Regions from separate parts of the Homo sapiens genome. Here regions 2 and 3 are each linked to region 1. Evidence: promoter capture Hi-C in 16 types of primary human blood cells and fetal thymus (Javierre and others, 2016). All regions are on one chromosome and are shown on one strand. The core of a region is centred on a gene start or on the middle of the fragment in contact, and the rest is flanking DNA. Distances in the headings are between cores, read along the strand shown.

Region 1 (4,852 bases), core at 900-3,399:
TCTTTTTAAAAAAATATTTATTTATTTATTTTGAAACAGTTTTACTCTGTCACCCAGGCTGGGGTGCAGTAGTGTGATCTTGGTTCACACTGCAACCTCCACCTCCCAGGTTCAGGTGATTCTCCTCCCTCAGCCTCCCTAGTAGCTGGGACTACAGGCATATGCCACCATGCCCAGCTAATTTTTGTATTATTTTTAGCAGAGATGGGATTTCACTATGTTGGCCAGGCTGGTCTTGAACTCCTGACCTCAAGTGATCTGCCTGCCTCGGCCTCCCAAAGTGTTGGGATTATAGGCATAAGCCACTGCCCTGGCCATGGAATTATTTTCTTACGGCTGAAAATTAAGCAAGACATTTTGATTCATGTGACTGTGGAGGGTTCTATTATCTAGCTAATTCTGGTCTAAACACAGATTAGTACTTAAGAACTGTAGGCCAGCCTATTTTCATTTAAGGAAACACACAGAATAAACTCAGATCATAATACAGTGCACTTCTTTATATTCAGTGAAACTGAACAATTAGGTCATATTTCTGATTTCTCATGAATATATTCCCAGTTTATGGAGCCTAGGCCTTGCTGGGTGTGGTGGTATGGCTCACACCTGTAATCCCCACTCTCAGGAGGCTGAGGTGGGAGGATGGCTTGAGCACAGGAGTTGGAAGCCAGCCTGGGCAACATAGTGAGGCCCTGTCTCTAAAAAAGTAAATAAATGATACAAGTTTAAAAAGTTCTTAAGGGAAGCCTAGGCCTTCATGCTACATGATGATTTCACTAGTTATTTTAGCTCTACAGGATAAAATCAGCAATCTTACTTCACATTTTCAAGCTTTTACATACTTTCCAAAGCAAGTAAATGCCCCATGACAATCCAGAAGCTGATATTTTCCCAAGTCAAGGATGAACAACTTCCACTGTCACACTTTCTCTAACCTGGACGACAATTACAAACTGTCACACTTCATTGTACATAGTCTTTGGCTGTTTTAGTTACAGAGGTTGTCAATTTCTGACCATGGGTTGAAACTTTCAATATTTGGTGAATATTCCAAAATAATTTCTTATGAAAATGAATAGGCCGGGTGCAGTGGCTCACGCCTGTAATCCCAACACTTTGGGAGGCCGAGGAGGGCGGATCACGAGGACAGGAGTTCGAGATCAGCTTGCCCAACATAGTGAAACCCCGTCTCTACTAAAAATACAAAAAAAACTTAGCCGGGCTTGGTGGCGGGAGCCTGTAATCCCAGCTACTATGGAGGCTGAGGCAGGAGAATCGCTTGAACCCAGAAAGCGGAGGTCGCAGCGAGCCGAGATCGCGCCACTGCACTCCAGCCCGGGCCACAGTGCGAGACTCCGTCTCAAAATAATAAATAAATAAATAAATAAATAAATAAATAAAAATAGACTGACTATATTCAAAGCTGGATTCAAGTTTTATCCCATTTGTAAGATGTCTCAGCTTAAAAAAACAAATATAACTGCAGCAGTAGAAAGGTTTTCCCTTTTTTCCCCCTTTGGAGCAACCCTATTAACTCGAGGTTGTTATTTCTCATAACTACCTTATCAATTAAAAAAAATGCTCCTCCTCTTCTCTGGAACGAGATTTTTACCTTTCTCAGCTTCCTCGTCTCTCCCATGTCTACCATGGCAGTCTGGTTACTTCTGTGTTACGGAGTCTGAGGATGCAGACGTCAGGGAGCTTGGGACTGGGTGTGACAGTGTGGATTCGGTTTTGACAGGTTGAGCGTGAGAGACTATATGAAGCTGTATTTTGCTGAAACATTGTAGAGAAAAACATATATTTCTGAAATGCTGTTTGTTAGACGAGTTGTAACAGTGTGTTTAGTTGGTTTGTGAGGGTGGTGTGTATTTGTGTGACTAACCACGTGAGGTGCACAATCTGGTCCCCGCCTCAGCTAGGGGGAGGCGCTATCCTGAGGCCTTTGCTTAAATCCAAACTGGAATAACCTGTTGCGAGACTTGAAGCTTCCGCAGCTGCAGGTTGCAGTCTCTGCCGCCAGCGCAGAGATCCTGGCCGGGTAGTCGCGCGCTCAGCGCTTGACAGGAGGGTGGTCACGTGGAGCCGCAAAGCGGCGCTTTGCGACCTCGATGACAGGCAAAATGTGCGACAGCCGTGGCGCTGGCCAACCAGGGGCGGAGGCGGCGGCCAGGGAGGAAGCGGAGGAGGCGGAGGCGGCCGCGGCGTTCGCCCGCCCGCTCGCTCGCTCGGTTTCCCCGCCCCCGCCGGGCTTAACGCCGCTGAAGGTATCCGGGTGCGCGCTGTCGCAACCTGCCCTCATCCTGGCCCGCGACTGTAAGACCGGACCCACATCCAGACCAATCTTCCTGTCCGGGCTGCTGCGACGCGGGCTCCGCAGGTTGCAGGCGGGCGGCCGGGGCGCCTGAAGGTTACCGAGTGCATGAGCGCCTAGCGCTTCCCGCGCTGCCCCGCCCGCTGGCCCGCCGACCCGCCCGCCGGCTCGCCCGCCAGCCCCTCGGCGCCCGGCGGCGGCGGCGGCGGTGGCGGCGACGGTCGCAGGAGGTGCCGTCTGCCTCCCAGGTGCGCGCTTCGCTCCCGGAGCCGCGGAACTCGGCGGCCGCCATGGCGTCCAACATGGACCGGGAGATGATCCTGGCGGATTTTCAGGTGAAGTATCTGGCCCTCTTCCCCTCCCACTTCCAACCTCGTGGGTTTCCGGTGCCACAAGGGAGTCTTCTTCCCAGCGTTTGAACGCTGCAGTGGTGTGTCATTTAGGCTTTTATACGGTGCGTGGCGTGTGTGTGTGTGTGTGGCGAGCTATGGAGAAGCGTATAATTTATATGCTATCATGAGTGTGTAGAATGTGTTAAGTACGGGTTGAATGGGATTGGAGGTATTAATGACTTGGGTTACAATGTGTGTGGAATGTGTAGTGTTTCCTGTATTATATGGGGGGACGTGTAGAGTTTTTGTTTTAATTGGTGTTGGACCATTAAGTATGGGATGTTTTGGGTGGTTCTGTGGGGAGAGATGTATGGAGTGTGAGCGTGGAGCGTGTGGTGTTATGGGCGTGGTGTATTTATATTGTATTAAGGGAAGAGTAAAAAAGCAGAATGATGAGATGGCGAGGGCAATGACAATGGGGTACTGAGGTCCTTTTCAAAGAGGAGTAAACATTTGAGACTTTGCCTAATTGGAATCTTTGGAGGGTAAGAAGATAACAAGGAGACAGATAAGACTATATATTCCAGAGTATCTCTGCAATGAATTCACAAGCTTAATAAATTACCTATTCATATTTGCGGATTCCCCTCCCCTACAGACTTGAATTGCTTGGTTGGTGTCCTTTCTCCAGGAATACTTTAAAGGATAAGTAAAGGCTGTTCTCTTAATAAACCCAGTCGTAGTGCCACTGACATGTAAGTATCTTAGGAAGGCCCTTTGAAAGTAGAACTGTATGCATTGTGAAAGACTTGGAGCTAGAACTAATATCCTGTGAGTGCTACCTTTGCCTTTTGATGTTTGGTGAAGGAATTATTTTAGTGAGATATTTTTGGCCATTTTGGCATCAACTTAGAAGCTACTGTCAAGTATAGGCAGACTTTTCCCTCTTTTTTAATACTCACATTGCACAGGTTCTAACACTAGCTTAGTAGGCAGTATTTTTCCTTGCTGAAATTTTGTTGGGCTTTTCTCTCTCTCTGTTCTATTAAGTTCCTTATTTTTTTTAAAATTAATTAATTTTTTTTTTTTTTTGAGACGGAGTCTCGCTCTGTCGCCCAGGCTGGAGTGCAGTGGCGCGATCTCGGCTCATTGCAAGCTCCGCCTCCCAGGTTCACGCCATTCTCCTGCCTCAGCCTCCCGAGTAGCTGGGACTACAGGCGCCGGCCACCACGCCTGGCTAATATTTTTGTATTTTTAGTAGAGACAGGGTTTCGCCGTGTTAGTCAGGATGGTCTTGATCTCCTGACCTCGTGATCCACCCTCCTCGGCCTCCCAAAGTGCTGGGATTACAGGCGTGAGCCACACTGCTCCCGGCCCTTATTTTTACAAATTAACGTTCAGATAACCATTTTCAGAGTTTGCTGTTTTGGTTACCCAGTGAAATCTGATATACAGGTATTAGGAATATGCATATATCTACAGTTTGATTAAACCATAACCTCCAAACTAATAAAGGAGTGTCCTTATAATAAAAGTTGACCATAAGATTTTGATGTTTTGTAGGTTTAGGATTGGCCTGAGGCTTTTTGCCTGCCTACATTTTAAAAAATTTTTCAATTAATTAATTAATTAAATTTTTTAGAGATGGGCCTTGCCATGTTGCCCAGGCTGGTCTTGAACTCCTGGGCTCAAGTGATCTACCCACCTCAGGCTCCGAAAGTGTTGGGAATACAGGTGTAAGCTCCAACACCCAGCCCTGCCTAAGTTTTTCATCATCGTCTTTTTGTTTTGTTTTTGTTCTCCAGTTCCATTTTTTATCTAATGTGGAATGCACTGTTTGAAAAAGGACTCTATATTTCAAGGTGTAGTTTTACCGTGTTACAAAATTGTCTTCTGATTTCCCTCATTAAAAACTTTATAAAGTAATTATAACTTTGTTTTAATTTTACCTTTTTATCTCTAATAACTTGCATCTGCTTTCTATTTTTTGTGTGTGACAATTATTATGCTTAACTGTTAACCTTATATTGGCTAAAGGACAGGAAATTTAGGCTTCTTGTACTCAGGCAAAGCAAGATTTTCCAGGGATTTTGGTTTGGAAATGAAAATGAAAATTTCGGCCGGGCATGGTGGCTCAGGCCTGTAATCCCAGTACTTTGGGAGGCTGAGGGGGCGGATCACGAGGTCAGGAGATCAAGACCATCCT
Region 2 (4,852 bases), core at 651-3,150, about 38 Mb before region 1:
AGGAATTAGGACTATATCCCACAGGCATTAAGGAGTCACTGAATGCTAAGGACAAATTCTGAATCTAGCAATTGTACATAGTTTAAATAACAGCAGAACAAGGCAAAAGAGGTGGAGGTAAAATATCAAGATATTATAATCATCCAAATGATAATGAAGGCCCACACTTAAACAATGGCAAAGTAATGAATGAACTCAAGATACAGAAGTAGAAGAAACAACTGAAGAGACTGAAGCAACAGTCAAATAAAAGTAACTAGCAGATTTCTAGCAGCCAGGGGAAGAATAGCTTTTGGAAATTTAGAGAAGTCAGGTCTGGCAGATTGGTCATATAATGTTTTTTAAAATCTGTTCATTTATTTATTCAAGCATTTATTAAGCATAACCTATATGTCAGTTGCTAGCGACATAAAGAGGAGTAAGACCTAGTTCCTGTCTTGAAAGTAGTAGAGACATGTAACAATTACCATATTAAGTGATATATTATTCAATAACAGGAGCTGTAAAATCAGAGACTAATTTGCAAATGTATCAAAATGCTTCATGACCAATTCCCTAAATTTATTAATCAAAAATATATCTTAAGTAAAACTTTTATTAGATATAAATATATTCATATAGTCAATGAATATGATTTTCTTATCAGAATTTTAAGGATTGTCCAATTTGTCAAATGCTGTTCAGACAGACAAGCAATATTAGTATTCTTAAAACCAGAATCAGCATATGCAAAGATAGGGAGTGTGGTTCAAAGAAATGTAAATAGTTTTAATATTCCAGAGTGTAAGATAAATAGGGAGAAAAATCAGAAAAAATGGGGGTCAGATGATGAAAAGTATAAATATATTTTATTCTATAATCGATGGAAAGTAACTGAAACATTTAAGCAGGAGAATCCCTAGAATTCTCAACCTAGAATCCCTTTTCAGAAAATAGTCTGTCCCAACCTCACAAGAGGTTTCTTGAAGCCATATTGATACTAGAGAATCTCATCCCTCCACTGCCATAGTTAGCTGGATCAGGGACACATGTTCCACTGACTAAGGCCACTCAGATTTTCTCATCTAAGAATTTAGAATTGTGACATATAGCAACTCAGTCAGTCAGCTGTGGTCTATGTGCAATGAACTTGTAGTTAATGTAAATTTAGAAGTTAGGAGTGCAACTTGGAGACCACAGGCAAGGAGAGCAAAGAGAACCAGTATACAGAGACATAAAGCAGTACACATACTTAAAGAAAAGAGAACATGTAGCCCTAGAAAGAAAACATCCAGTTTCCTGTTTAGTACTCATGGGATCTGGCTATACATCTTACCCTTAAGTGATACAACCCCATAGCTTTTCAAAAAATCCAATTTCTGCTTAAGCTAATTTAAGTGGGTTTCTATTTTCTGCAACTGTTACTAAACAAGGTTTTGGCGGTTAATCAGATTCCGGTGGTTAATCTGAAGGATAAATTAATGGGAAAATAGGCTACAAATAGGTGGAACATTTAAGGTAGAAAAGGAGTTACCAAACAAAAGCAGTAGTAACAAACAGAGGCAGGTATGATGAAAGAAAAGTAACCAATATAGTGCAGGGTCCTCAAAGCTTAATTAACAATAGTTTCAGGAAGCTGGAGCAGTATCAATTGCGTCTAAAGACTAGAAGCAACAGAATGTCATGATACCTTTAAGAAAACCACTTCAACAGAATAACTGAGACAGAAGTCATATATGAGTAAGCTAAATAAACGGTAGACAAGGCATCTAAGAAATTTCTTTAAAAAAGAAAGAAATTTGAGGGTACAACAGTATTAAAGAGTATAATAAAAACATGAGAGACGTTAACTTATTTTTAAGCCAAGAGCCAGTGGATAATGCAAAGCCCCACCCTGCAAAAGAGTAAAACATGATATTCCAGAGGAAGCAAAAGCCCAGGAAAGTATAACCTTACCAAGAAGAAGCAATTTTTCCTTAAAATTCAGTAGAAATAAAAAGGATGGCTAACATTCCAAGAAATCTGAAAGTAAAGACAAGAAAACTTGAGGAAACTCACGTGGTTGAACAGCACGTATCACTACATAGAGATGAGTGATATGCTGAGAACAAAAGAGCAGGAGTAGGTTGGATGACAGAAAACAACATAAAAAGTTTGAGCCACAACTGGGGAATGGGATGGGTGTCAATAAGAGTTAAGACAAGGATGACCTTTACTAACCCAAAGCTTCAGGAGATAAAAAAACAAAAGAACCACAAATTGATATAATAAGGAAAAAGTGAGGTATTACTGAGCTAGGTAAGGATAAGTTCAGGTATAGTTCAATACATAACCTAGCATGATGTAACTCTAACTGGCAAGAATTTATCAAATTTGATTAATCAAATGATTAATTTTAATTAATTTTAATTAATCATATTTGATTAATTTTTGCAAGTTAGAGTTAGGCTAATAAAGCTATGTGTAGATGTTTCTATCCTAAAAGCTGAAAAGTGCTCTATTTTAAATTTGCATTATAAAGACGTCTGACAGACATTTCAAAATTTTTTTTTTTTTGAGATGGAGTCTCGCTCTGTCGCCCAGGCTGGAGTGCAGTGGCGCAATCTCGGCTCACTGCAAGCTCTGCCTCCCGGGTTCACGCCATTCTCCTGCCTCAGCCTCCAGAATAGCTGGGACTACAGGCGCCCGCCACCACGCCCGGCTAATTTTTTGTATTTTTAGTACAGACGGGGTTTCACTGTGATCTCTCGATCTCCTGACCTCATGATCTGCCCGCCTTGGCCTTCAAAATGTTTTTAAACATTAAAATAACTCAGACCTATCTCCATATTCAAAAATCAATGCTATTAAATAAACAGAAATGAGATACCATGATACACTTATTAGAATGACCAAAATCCAGAAAACTGACAACACCAAATACTGGAGATGGTGTGGAACAACAAAAACTCTTATTGTTGGTAGGAATACAAAATAGTTCGGGCACTCTGGAGGGCAGTTTGGGAGTTTCTTACAAATCTAAATATATTCTTACCATACAATTGGACACCCTGGTATTTAACCAAAGGAGTTGAAAAGTTGCATCCACACAAAAACTTGCATAGGATGTCTATAGCATTTTATTCATAACTGCCAAAACAGAAGCAACCAAGATGTCCTTCAGTAGGTGAATGAATAAACTAAGGTACATACAGACAATGGGATATTATTCAGTACTAAAAAGAAATAAGCTATCAAGCTATGAAAAGACATGGAGGAAAATTAAATGCTTATTTCTAAGTGAAAGAAACCCATGTAAAATGGCTACACACTGTATGATTCCAACCGCATGAGATTTTCCCAAACGCACAACTATGGAAACTGTAAAAAGATCAGTGGTTGCCAGGGGATGGAGGAGAGGGAAGGATGAATAGGTAGAACACAGAGAATAAGCTTAGTGCAGGGACACTATTCTGTATACTATAATGCTGGATACATGTCATTATACATTTGTACAAACCCATAGAATGCACAACACCAAGATGTGTGCACTCTGGGCTCTGGATGATGATGATGTGTCAATATAGGTTCATCAACTGCAACAAATGTACTCTTGTGGAGGATGTCGATAATGCATATGTACATATGTAGGGACGCAGTTATTTGAGAAATCTCTAGACCTTCCTCTCGATTTTGCTGTGGACCTAAAACTGCTTTAAAATATGAAGTCTATTAAAAAACAACAAATCCAGATAAACTGACTTAAATCTAAAAAATAAAACTGCAAGATTCTTAGGAGCAAACTTGGGTAGCTATCTTTTAAACCCAGGATAGGGAATAATTTATTTAAAAGGGCATGAAAAGCAATTACAGTAAGTCCTCACTTAACACTGCTGATAGGTTCTTGGAACTGAGACTTTAAGAAAAACAATGTGCTTCAGGTCCTTTAATAATGCTGTTTCGCTCAATATCATTTCTTTTCTTTCTTTTTTTGAGACAGGGTCTCACTATGCTGCCCAGGTTAGAGTGCAATGACACGATTCCAGCTCACTGCAGCCTTAACTCTTGGGCTCAAGTCATTCTCTCACCTCCACCTCCAAAGTAGCTGGGACTACAGGTGTGCATCACCACTTCTGGCTAATGTTTCATTGTTTATAATATCATTTCCTTAGAACACTGATGAGAAAAAAGAAACTGGTTTCATTATAAGTTATTTTGCTTAAAGTCAGTTTCCAAGAACCCGTCAATGACATTAAGTGAGGACTTACTGTATGATAAACAATGGACAAATTTGACTTAAGAATTTTTTTTATCAAAAGATGCACAGCAATGACAAAAACTGTATTTAGGATTCCGAGTTTGTAAACTTCTGAACTAGTAAACTGTTCAGAAGATTAATATTTTGCTTTATATCCAGTATTAAATCTGATCAACTCCAGCATTTTAATGGCAAGCTATGAAAATACCTAAATAACTGACTCACATAATCTTACGGAATATACTGCCCTTTAAACAAAAGAATAAAATATTATTAATGACTAATAATAAGTAGTTTGCAACAGAGAGGTATGGAATTGGAAAATAAGCAACTGATGAAGTGTATGTATAATTTTTGCTATTTCTTTGCTTCTGAATTTACTCATTAACTAAATCAACCTAGCATTTGGGTGCCTAGCATGTGTGAAGCAATACAATATTTTATACAACTTCCTATGGCTGTTCATTTGGATAGTTTACAAATCCCCAGGCCATAAACTATTAATATAACTTTACCCTTTCTATACCAAATGTACAATAGATATTAAATACAAGCCTGTTGATGATAACGATGTAAATTATTCCAAATATTTGCCAAAGAAGGTAGAGGCATTTAAAACTGTCCCTCCCACACAAC
Region 3 (4,852 bases), core at 620-3,119, about 38 Mb before region 1:
AACTCCATGATCTACCTCATGCGAAAGAAAAAGGAGCATGGAGGATCATATATCCAATGTCTTGAGACCCAGGCTCAAAATTACACATTTCTGTTCATATTCCATTCTGGGAATGTAGTCACATGGCCACACCTAGCTTCAAATGAGGCTGAGAAATGTCATCTCTAACTGTGTAGTTATGGACCTTGCTACAACTCTTCCTACAGAACAGGGACAGGGTGGATTTTGATGGACAATTCACAATATCCACTTCATAGGTATTTTAGTCAGTGATTTTTGCCGTTGGTAAAGCATTCTACTTCTCAGGCTTTAAAATGTGAGCTTCAGAGCAAATGTATTATATATATCAGTTATAAAAAAAAAAGACCATAAATTCTTAGAAAACTCCCTCCTAGCTTGAACCTTCTCAGAACCCAGCCACTGTTCTGTAAGAAGTCAAAGCTTCATGGAGAAGCCATATATATAGGTGTTGTGGTTGATAGTCCTAGCTGAACCTAGCCTTTAAATCATCCCAGCCCAGTCACCAGACAGGAGGGTAAAGACCTATTTCCCTCTTGGTAAGAGATCTTCCATTCTCAGCCCTTCCAGTCCCCACCAGTTCAAGTTGCTTCCAGCTGTTGGAAGCATCCTATTTGAGGCCCTAGACATCATGGAAAGAGACAATCCCCACTATGTCCTGTACAAACTCCCAAACCATAGAATTTGTGAGCATAATGAAATGGTTGGTTGGTTGGTTTGGTTGGGGGAAGGGGGGACAGAATAATAGATATACATGGCAATATTTAACTAGAATATACATTCCAAGTCAGATATTTAAATAGGCCCTCTTCTCAAACTTTCCATTGATAGAATTTTTTGAAATATTTAAACTATCTAAAGTGAGTGATTAAAAACATTTTAGCTTGGCCAGGAGGGGTGACTCACACCTGTAATACCAGCACTTTAGGATGGCGAAGCAGGAAGATCACCTGAAGTCAGGAGTTTGAGACCAGCCTGGCCAACATGGTGAAACCCTGTCTCTACTAAAAATACAAAAAAAAAAAAAAAAAAAAAAAAAAAAATTAGCCGGCATGGTGGCACGCACCTGTAGTCCCAGCTACTCAGGCGGCTGAGCCAGGAGAATCACTTGAACCTGGGAGGCAGAGGTTGCAGGGAGCCGAGATCACACCACTGCACTCCAGCCTGGAAGACAGACTGAGAATCATCTAAAAAACAAAAACAAAAACTCAGTTTAGCTTTTACAATTCATTCACTCATTTGACAAAATCTATGGAGTATCTAAAATTTACTGGGGTTATACCTGCATACACACATTAGGATCCAATTATATTCACTCCTGTGTTTCCCATGTAGATTTTGAGCTTCTTGAGTGAAAACAATATATATTACTTCTGTAATCTCCACAGCATCCAGTAATATATAAAGTTTAATATGAGTAGAAAGTGCTTGATAAGAACTTGTTTGATGATTTTTAAAATGTATAATAGAAATGTATATATGTAACCATTCTTTATGTGCATACATACCACTTATTCAAGTGTGGCTGAAAATATGTGTATTTTCTAATTAAAAATAAGAACTGCTAGTTATAGGTACTTATAAAATATAAAAGCGATTTTAAAATATGTCACTTTATAAAGATTCTTATGAAGGGTTTCCTATTAAAGATGCTATTTTGGAAGAGTATTACAGTCATTTGCATATTTATTTTTGTATGCTGGTAATTCACATGATCTGTGTATTGCTTTTACAGTTTAACTGTAAGCCTCTTGCCAAATGAAATTTTATTTTTAAAGTACCTTATCACCACACACACATATGCAAGCAGTCTGAATTGTATAAAATATAAGATCCACATTTCAATTGCTTTACTTTGTTGCCTATCACAACTAGAGCATCCTAAAATTCTCCTTTATTAGAGCAAAATGTGGCTGATTCAAATATCATACTTCAGCTGCCTTCACCATTTGAATGAAATAAGCTCCCAGCAAGATGTATTCAAGAAACTATGGTTCAAACTGTGTTATTCTGCTATAAAGCAATCTGCTAAACATTTCTGAAGCAATTTAGCTGTGACTTAGTTGCAAACAATGTGGACACTTAATCTGTGACTTGAAATTGGGGCTACAGAGAAGTATTCAAGACTTTTCTCATGAGTTCACTTGCTTCAGAGAAAGATACTTCCTATTTTCTTATGAGCTAAGAATGGAAAGCTAAGAACTATCAACTATATTAAAACAATGAAAATGATCAACCTTATAAGTTGAGTTTGTATTAAATCTGAAGTATTGTAGATATAATGATACTATATCACCTATTGTAGGTATAAATATATTATAAGGGCTTTTACCCAAAAGAATAGGACTTGCTTTTAGAATTATTCTGGGTTATATTTGTCTTACCATAAATTCTTCATAAATATATCTTACCTATATTATTAACATCATTTTTTCACTGTTTTCTCAGCTGATAGACTCTGTATTTGGAGTAATTATTTGCCTAAAAAATGCATGCCATCTTGACGAGGTCAACATTCCAAAAATATTTTTTGTACTGAGTTAATAAAATATGTTACATTAATCAACTGTACTATAATCTTTGATACTGATCAAACCATGTTTAAATTTGAAATTCACTATTTATAATATATATATCAATATATGAATAAAGATAAAGGAAAATGGACACAGAGGTTTATCAAAATAAGGGAAAGTAAATCCTTATTCTTATTTCAAGTCAGTTATTTTTAAAGATATTATTTAGGCTATGACTAATATGTCAAAACTCACCATGTAGAAATCATGTGGGTATAACTGTACAATGTTAAAATTCACTTATGTTTGTTTAAAATAACTGTTGATTAGCCAGATTTTCTTATATTTCAACCTCTTGGTTTGGCATTATGTGAGTAGTATAGTAATAGAATAATAATAAAGCAAATAATTTTTTGTAGCCTGTTATTTAAGACATTTTACATTAACTCAGTTTTTTCACTTTTGAACTATCTTTCTAAAACCATTAACCTTCAAATGCATTTTTATCTTCGAACTGATTCATGATGTAGACTAACATTTTAGTTGTGGCAGCTCTGAATTAATCACTTTTCATTAGTACCTGTTTTACTTACCGTAGGTACCATGCTAAAAGTTGATCTCAATTTGGGCCTTCTCCTATTACTTAAATGCTGAAAGAATTTAAATTTCTTAGTTATAATGATAAACTCAACTCATTTGTTTTTATTTGAAAGGTAAATGAGGCCAGAAGCTATAAAGGCTTTTATGAAAATAAAAAGCTTACTCAAAGTGTTAGATTTGATTTGTTCGGTATGCAGTGTTGATGGGGCATCCTTTGCCTAAGGCAGTATTAATGGATGAAAGTCAGGACATTCCTGGCAGAGATTTGAGGTGTAATGGTGAAGATTTTCTGTATATTCATTCCCTCTACACTTGGTGTGATATTGACCTGGTCTTTTGGAGAGATATAACTTGTAAACAAATCATAGTTACATCTACAATTGGCAAACTATGTTTTTCAGCATACCATTATTTTTTTCTCCTGCTCTCCTCTACTTACTTCCTTCTCTATCCCATGGGGTTAGAAATTACTTTGAACAGATTGGTGAATAAGGGTAATATTCCACAAGCTACAGCATCCACTCTTTTTATGGTTTGGATTTTTTTTCTCTATCTCTGTATCTCTATATACTTCTGAAATCTGTAATTCTTGTGTGTTTTGAACCTAACTCATCCCCCCAAAACAATTCTAACTTTAATATCCTCCCTCAATAATCCATATCTTCCTTATCAGTTACATTCTTAAAATTCTCCCTTTTGTCAAATCTATATACAGTTGTCCATGAGTGATTGTTTTCAGGACCACCCCCTCGTATCCAAATCCACAGATGCTCAAATCCCTTGTGTAAAATGGCATAGTATTCGCATATACCCTACCCTGTATATTTTAAATTATCTCTAGATTACTTAGAATACCTAATAAAATGTAAATGCTGTGTAAATAATTGTTATACTATAATGTTTAGGGAATAATGACAAGTAAAAATGTCTGTACTTGTTCAGTACATATGCAACCATCCATTTTTTAAATGTTTTCAATCTGATGTTGGTTGAATTCAAAGATAGGAAATTCATGGATACAGAGAGCTCTCCACTATCAACTTTGAAAATAGAATAGCTGAGTTTTACATTTAGCAATTGAAAATAAGAGAAGTAATTTGCAGATATAAGTATGTATTAGATTAATTGGATGACTTCAAATCTCTGTCCAGCAATTGTCAATTTGTTTACATGTAATCCAAATGCAATTTTCTTAAATATCAAGGGAGTGAGTTAGAGTCCTATTTGTTTCTTAATTTGAATTGTCTTGTGAATCAGCCAAGGTACAGAAAATAAAACATGATAAGCCAAAGTACAGAAAAATTTTTATTTTCATTTCAGGCAGGCAGTCAAGGGTATTAAGATTTGAGCTCTAGCTTTAGGTCAAATTGCCCCTACAATTCTACTGTTATTATTTTTACCTATTACATTACTTTGTATATTTCTGTTTCCCTGTATTGGTATCTGTTTAATGAGACCACAAACAGTAAAACAGTAAAGAACAAAGAGATAAGGAGAATGAAACAACAGTAGAATTTAGAAGTTAAATAAAACACATTCAATTTTACCTCTTTCCAGAGGAGCCTATACCAGCTCTAAGTTCAACTGCCTGAGACCAAAGTAATGATTCTGTCAACCTATTTGCCTTGATCAGAATGCTTATTTGGCCTAACCATTACATATGACAAAAGATAACTTGTATATGTTGCATGTGTGTGTGTGTTTACATGGGTCAAATA

Evidence for each region. The method cuts DNA at HindIII sites, captures the fragments that hold promoters and counts their contacts. A CHiCAGO score of 5 or more calls a contact.
Region 2: a fragment that was not itself captured here is called in contact with the fragment with the promoter of FAF1 in region 1 in 3 of 17 cell types (fetal thymus, naive CD4 T cells and activated CD4 T cells); the score reaches 20.1 in fetal thymus.
Region 3: a contact is called between a fragment that was not itself captured here and the fragment with the promoter of FAF1 in region 1, in 2 of 17 cell types (total B cells and activated CD4 T cells). The highest score is 6.2, in total B cells.

What each region holds. Positions count from the first base shown.
Region 1 is chr1:50,957,564-50,962,415 of GRCh38, reverse strand. It overlaps FAF1 (Fas associated factor 1), which reads left to right and starts at 2,149. Exons shown (of 19, transcript NM_007051.3): 1 at 2,149-2,649. The coding sequence starts at 2,605. It also overlaps a transcript of CDKN2C not described here. RefSeq lists silencers at 2,183-2,342, 2,453-2,502 and an enhancer at 2,813-2,862. The HindIII fragment of the contact is 1,270 bases long and covers 1,991-3,260 here.
Region 2 is chr1:88,692,810-88,697,661 of GRCh38, reverse strand. The region is part of intron 1 of PKN2 (protein kinase N2); the gene reads right to left. Among named protein-coding and RNA genes, the nearest start is that of PKN2-AS1, 10 kb to the right of the region's middle. The HindIII fragment of the contact is 615 bases long and covers 1,593-2,207 here.
Region 3 is chr1:88,670,883-88,675,734 of GRCh38, reverse strand. All of the region lies in intron 1 of PKN2-AS1 (PKN2 antisense RNA 1), which reads left to right. Among named protein-coding and RNA genes, the nearest start is that of PKN2, 11 kb to the left of the region's middle. The HindIII fragment of the contact is 2,851 bases long and covers 444-3,294 here.